2 separate regions of the Homo sapiens genome follow, and region 2 is linked to region 1. Evidence: promoter capture Hi-C in human tissues and cell types (Jung and others, 2019). All regions are on one chromosome and are shown on one strand. Each heading gives the region's core, a stretch centred on a gene start or on the middle of the fragment in contact. The rest is flanking DNA. Distances are from core to core; before and after follow the strand shown. Region 1 overlaps CLK3 (CDC like kinase 3). Region 2 holds the start of CYP1A2 (cytochrome P450 family 1 subfamily A member 2).

The links. Contacts are between HindIII fragments. The study calls those that stand out against the background at their distance.
Region 2: a contact is called between the fragment with the promoter of CYP1A2 here and a fragment that was not itself captured in region 1, in 4 of the 25 tissues and cell types used here (lymphoblastoid cells, mesendoderm cells, spleen and 1 more).

Annotation. Positions count from the first base shown.
Region 1 is chr15:74,616,328-74,618,862 of GRCh38, reverse strand. The region is part of intron 1 of CLK3 (CDC like kinase 3); the gene reads right to left. Among named protein-coding and RNA genes, the nearest start is that of CLK3, 1.8 kb to the right of the region's middle. RefSeq lists enhancers at 1,662-2,272, 2,273-2,535. The HindIII fragment of the contact is 8,305 bases long and covers 1-2,535 here.
Region 2 is chr15:74,747,581-74,750,115 of GRCh38, reverse strand. CYP1A2 (cytochrome P450 family 1 subfamily A member 2) reads right to left here and starts at 1,271. Exons shown (of 7, transcript NM_000761.5): 1 at 1,219-1,271; 2 at 1-386. The coding sequence starts at 377. RefSeq lists promoters at 378-1,515, 1,181-2,535. The HindIII fragment of the contact is 12,167 bases long and covers 1-2,535 here.

The sequences.
Region 1 (2,535 bases), core at 25-2,524:
TCAAAGGCAGGAGAAAGGGGAGCCTCCTGCACTCTATTCCCTCCCGCCCGGGGGGGCGGTCCCGTGAAGTGAATGCTCTGTAAAGCCAAAGGCCAGGCAAAGGGCTGTACACAGGAGGCGAGGGCTCAAAGCCCTCAAGTTTGAGAAGCTGAACGCTGTCTGGCTAGGGCCCTGAACTGGACCCCACTCAAGGGAGTAAGGACCACAAGTGAGCATGAGGAGCCACAAGAGACTAGAAGAGCAGCCCTTGGAGAAAGAGGCACACAGGCCTCACAAACATTCCATAGCCCTCCTGAGGGTCAACCCAAGGGGACGTGGACCCAGCGCATCTAACTTTCTTTCCAGAGGCCCATTTAGCACCCTTTTAGACCCCCACAGTGCCCTGCCAGGTGCCTTGCCTTTATCCAACAGTACCGTTACTGTCCCTTCTTCTAGCTCTCTGGCTCTAGTATCCTACCCTCCGCCTATCCCAGGATAGCCAGAGGGTTAGCCATCTGGCAGGTAAAAGAGCCCCACCTCACTATCCCTGTTCAGTGAGGACTTATATCCACCAAATGAAATTGCCAGGCTGGATCTGCCACCAGCGGAGAAAGCTGGCCATGTGAGGCCAGCAACCTGCTCCACCCATACGTCAATCCCTGACTGCCTCCATGGAGCCAGCCTTCTTCCCAACACTCACACTTGGCCACAGCCAACCTCCAGTCATGGTCAGTCCTGAGCTTGCCTGGCCAAGCACATTTTGTACAAACCCACTGAGGCTGCCCCATCTCACCAGCAGGGTCTGTCAGGAGAAAAGCAGCATAGAACAGCTCCCCATGCTTGAGCAGGACAGTGAGGCCTATGTGACCAAACCCCTGGGAGCCTCTCCGTGTCCCTAAGAAAGCCCTCCATCTCCCCACTAACTTGTCTTCCCCCGTGTACCTGGGAAGTCTTTGGAGATAAATATTTTGTGAAATCACCTCCCCAAAAGCTTAGATTTGTTGTTTTGGTAATCAGCTGACTAATATTTCACTGTTTTCCTGCAATTACTCTGGGTCAGGTGCCCAAGCTATGGAATGAAAGCAGGAACTCACACCCCACTAATTGACCCAGAAGATGCTCTATTGGCCAGGGCACATGTCGTGCCACAAGGCAAGTATGGTCCTGCCCATCCTCACTGGGCAGACAAACACCAGAGCTGGAGGACACAGTCACAGTCACACCACGCCAAAGACTACCTCCTGGGACCTAGAAGATTCTTATGTCCATACATATTCACATCAATGGAAAACAAAATTTCAGAGTCATATAGATGTCAATCTGAATCATGGCTTGCCACTTCTAGCTGTGTGCCTTTGAACAAATTATTACACTACTCTGACCGTCAGCTTCATCTTGCAACAAGGGAATAGTAATCTCTTACAAGGTTCTGTGAGGATTAAATATCTCTCTCCTATAAGTGAAATGCCTAGCACAGCTTTGTGCCCACAGAGGTACTAGTGGCAGCTTTTCATGAACATCTGAAAGTTCCAGGTAACACTTCAGGGCTGTGTTAAATGCCTTACAGACATTTTATAAGTCCCTTCCAAGGAAACTGGGAGGCAAGAGCTCTGGCAGAAAACTAAACTAAATCCTAGTGCTGTCACATACCAGCCTCATGACCTTAGACAAGTCACTCTAGGCCTTGGTTAGCATGCCTGGAAAATGGAGATAACATCTCTCAGCCTGGCAAAAGAGATGACAAGCATGAGAGTTATAAGGTACCACACACAAAGCAATAACAGAGAAGAGTATCCTTCCTTTAACACATTCTAGGCAAGTAAAATATTGGAAATAGCAGATATCATCCTCCCAGCCAGGGCTCTAGGGCCCATTTCTCAATTATCTCTGATTCTCGAAAACCTCAGCAAACAGCTTGTTTAAAAAGCAGCTAAAGGCCACAATTATGCTTTGGGAAGCTCTGCTCTGCACAATGAGGAAAAAGGTGATATGAAGAAAACCAAGCCAAGGATGTCAACTTTGAGCACAGGCCTTGTCGGCTTCTCATTTGCTGTTCCTGGCCAGAGAACTGGGCTGACTAGAAGTGCAGCCAGCCAGGTCAGCGGCTGCCCTCCCGGATTCCAGCCACCCCAGCACCCATGGTTATTTTTGGCTGGACTGCCCTACCACTGCAACCTCAAACCTGCCACCTCGCAAGCCTCCACCACCAACGGTGAAACGCTCCTCCTTTTCAAGGGCATCAAGAAGGGAAGCTGGAAGGCCGCCAACTCCGCCTCTGATGGGGGCCTGGTTCAGGCAATTTCCACCCCAGCTCCACATCAGGGCACCCACACCCGGAACTAAAGCTAGAGACTCCCGGGCGGGACGGAGGAGCAGCCAGGGGATTTGAACTGTCAGCTTGGCCTAGCCCATCCTCCGGGCTGGAGTGGCTCTACCACCACAACAAAACACACAGGGGAGCCTGCGCCCTCGTTCGCGTCCCTTCCTGCCGCCCCAGGTCCCAGGGGGTCTCAGAGTCCCATCCCCTGTAACCGCCACCAGTGGCGCCGAGGGGAG
Region 2 (2,535 bases), core at 22-2,521, 130 kb before region 1:
CTGAAGGTCAAGCTCTGGCCATCAGTGATGAGGGTGGAGGTGTAGAGGTCAGGCCGGCCCTTGAAATCGTCGCCCTGCCGCACCAGGGCCTGCCGGATGGTGTCCAGGCGGCTCAGCACCAGCACGGGCGTGGAGCCAATGCGGATCTGCAGGACGTCCCCGTAGCGCTGGCTCATCCTTGACAGTGCCAGGTGCGGGTTCTTCCCCAGGGTCAGCACATGCCCGAGCAAGGGCCAGCCCCATGGCTCTGGTGGACTTTTCAGGCCTTTGGGGACCCGAGGCCTCAAACCCTTGAGCACCCAGAATACCAGGCAGAAGATGGCAGAGGCCAGGAGAAGCTCTGTGGCCGAGAAGGGAACAGACTGGGACAATGCCATCTGTACCAACTGCAGGGAAAAAAGGAGGGACCAGGCTGAGGGTTGAGATGGAGACATTCATTCATTCATTTCCTCAGTCATTTGATAAACACTGATGCGTGTTCTGTGCTTGGCTCCCAGCTGGATACCAGAAAGACTAAGCTCCATCTACCATGCGTCCTGGGCCCACAGAGCTCACCCTTTGAGCATCACAGAATCTGAGAGCTGGAAAGGAGCCTCAAGATTCCCAACATGAACGCTGGCTCTCTCCTCCACACATCATCTCAGTTTCCACTTCTGGGGCTGGAGTAGAGGCAAGTGACCACTCCAAAATGGGGAAGCCAAGGACAGCACCCTTGTCAGCCCCTGGCACAGCATGCATGCTGGGTATTGTACCAAAGAGTCCCTGCCAGTGCTGGCTTTCTGCTGATACCTTCCATATACCCAAGGGACCAGGAGTTCCCCCTACCCAGTGACACTGAGGTGGCCAAGGTCCCAGGGCTGGTTCAAATAGCCTGTGATGCCCCCTCCCCAGGGCATTCTTTATCAATACCAGGAGGGGCACCTCCTCCAGGGATGAGTCCCCATCCTCTCACAGTCTTGGAGGTTGGGGTTGGGCTTCAGCCAGGGCCAGGGCTGCCCTTGTGCTAAGGGGGAAGCCCTCCCCATCGCTCTCCTTAAAAATGGCTTAGTCCAAACTGCTCATTTAAAATCGGGAAACAGAAGTCAAGAGCTGGGTAGCAAAGCCCGGAACTCAGGACCCCTACACCTAGCCCAGGCTCCCCGTCTTTCTGTCCCCACTAGCTTCCAGGTTCTATAGTTGGGGATCCCAGAGATTGTAAATTGGTCCCAAGAAAGGTACCTGTAGAGGCAGGTGCTTGAGATTGGCAGGGTTGTAATGGCTGGTGTGGAGCTTCTGGCTCTAGGTGAGTGGCCTTTTTATAAACACCGCCCCCTATCAGATTGGCCTGGTTGTCCTGATCACCTGATATGAAAGCTGGATCACTGAACAAAGTTGGAAGGATCAACTCTTGGCCTTGGGCCATTATCCCTCAGCTCCACCTACTACCTAAGACCCAGGGTGACTCTTTGGGGATAGGCCAGAAGGGGTGCTGGGTCCCTGGGGATGAAGGTACAGCTGTCTTTAGGGTTCAGGGTAGGGAGCCTATTTCTCTGAAGAGTAGGGTAGGGTCTGGGAGTGGGGGTTAGGCCTTTGGACTGATCTGGGCTTCTTTCCCACTGCACACATGAGGAAGAGCTCTGCCAGGGCACTCAGTCTAGGCCAACCAGGCTCACGGCCCCTCTCCAGAGGGATGTTCTTCTGTAGTACCCTCCAACAACCTGCAAAACCAAACAGTAAATGGGCGTGTTCCAGCCACTCCTGATTTTCAGCCCAAGTCCCCAAGTGGAAAAGAAGAGATGATAAAGATTTTGCATCCTAAAGAGAGGCCCCCCTTATGCAAAAAGACTAAGAGACATAACCAAATGCAATATGGATTTGCATTTGATTGCCATATCGATTGGATATGGCATTTAAACAAAATTTTAAAAAAATCTATAAAAGATGTTTTGGGGACAATTGGGGACATGTAAGCACGGACTGGAGATTAGATGATATTCTGGAATAAATGTAAATTTTTTTAGGTGTGAACAGAGTGTCATGGTATGTGGGAGTGTATCCTTATTCTTAGGAGATTAATGCTGTAGCATGGAAGTGTCATGATCCCCACAACCTCCTTTTGAATGGTTCTGTTAAAAAATGTACACCTCTAGGCCAGGCGCGATGGCTCGCACCTGTAATCCCAGCACTTTGAGAGGCCGAGATGGGCGGATCACCTGAGATCAGGTGTTCAAGACCAGCCTGGCCAACCTGGTGAAACTCCGTCTCTACTAAAAATACAAAAATTAGCCAGGCATGGTGGCATGTGCCTGTGATCCCAGCTACTCGGGAGGCTGAGGCAGGAGAATGGCTTGAACTTGGGAGGTGGAGGCTGCAGTGAGCCAAGATCGTGCCACTCCACTCCAGCCTGGGCGACAGAGTGAGACTCCGTCTCAAAAAAAAAAAAAATGTACACCTTTAAAGAGTGTAATTGGATTGTTTGTAACTCAAAGGTTTATCCTTGCTTGAGGGGATGGATACTCCATTCTCCATGAATGCTTATTTCATATTGCATGCCTG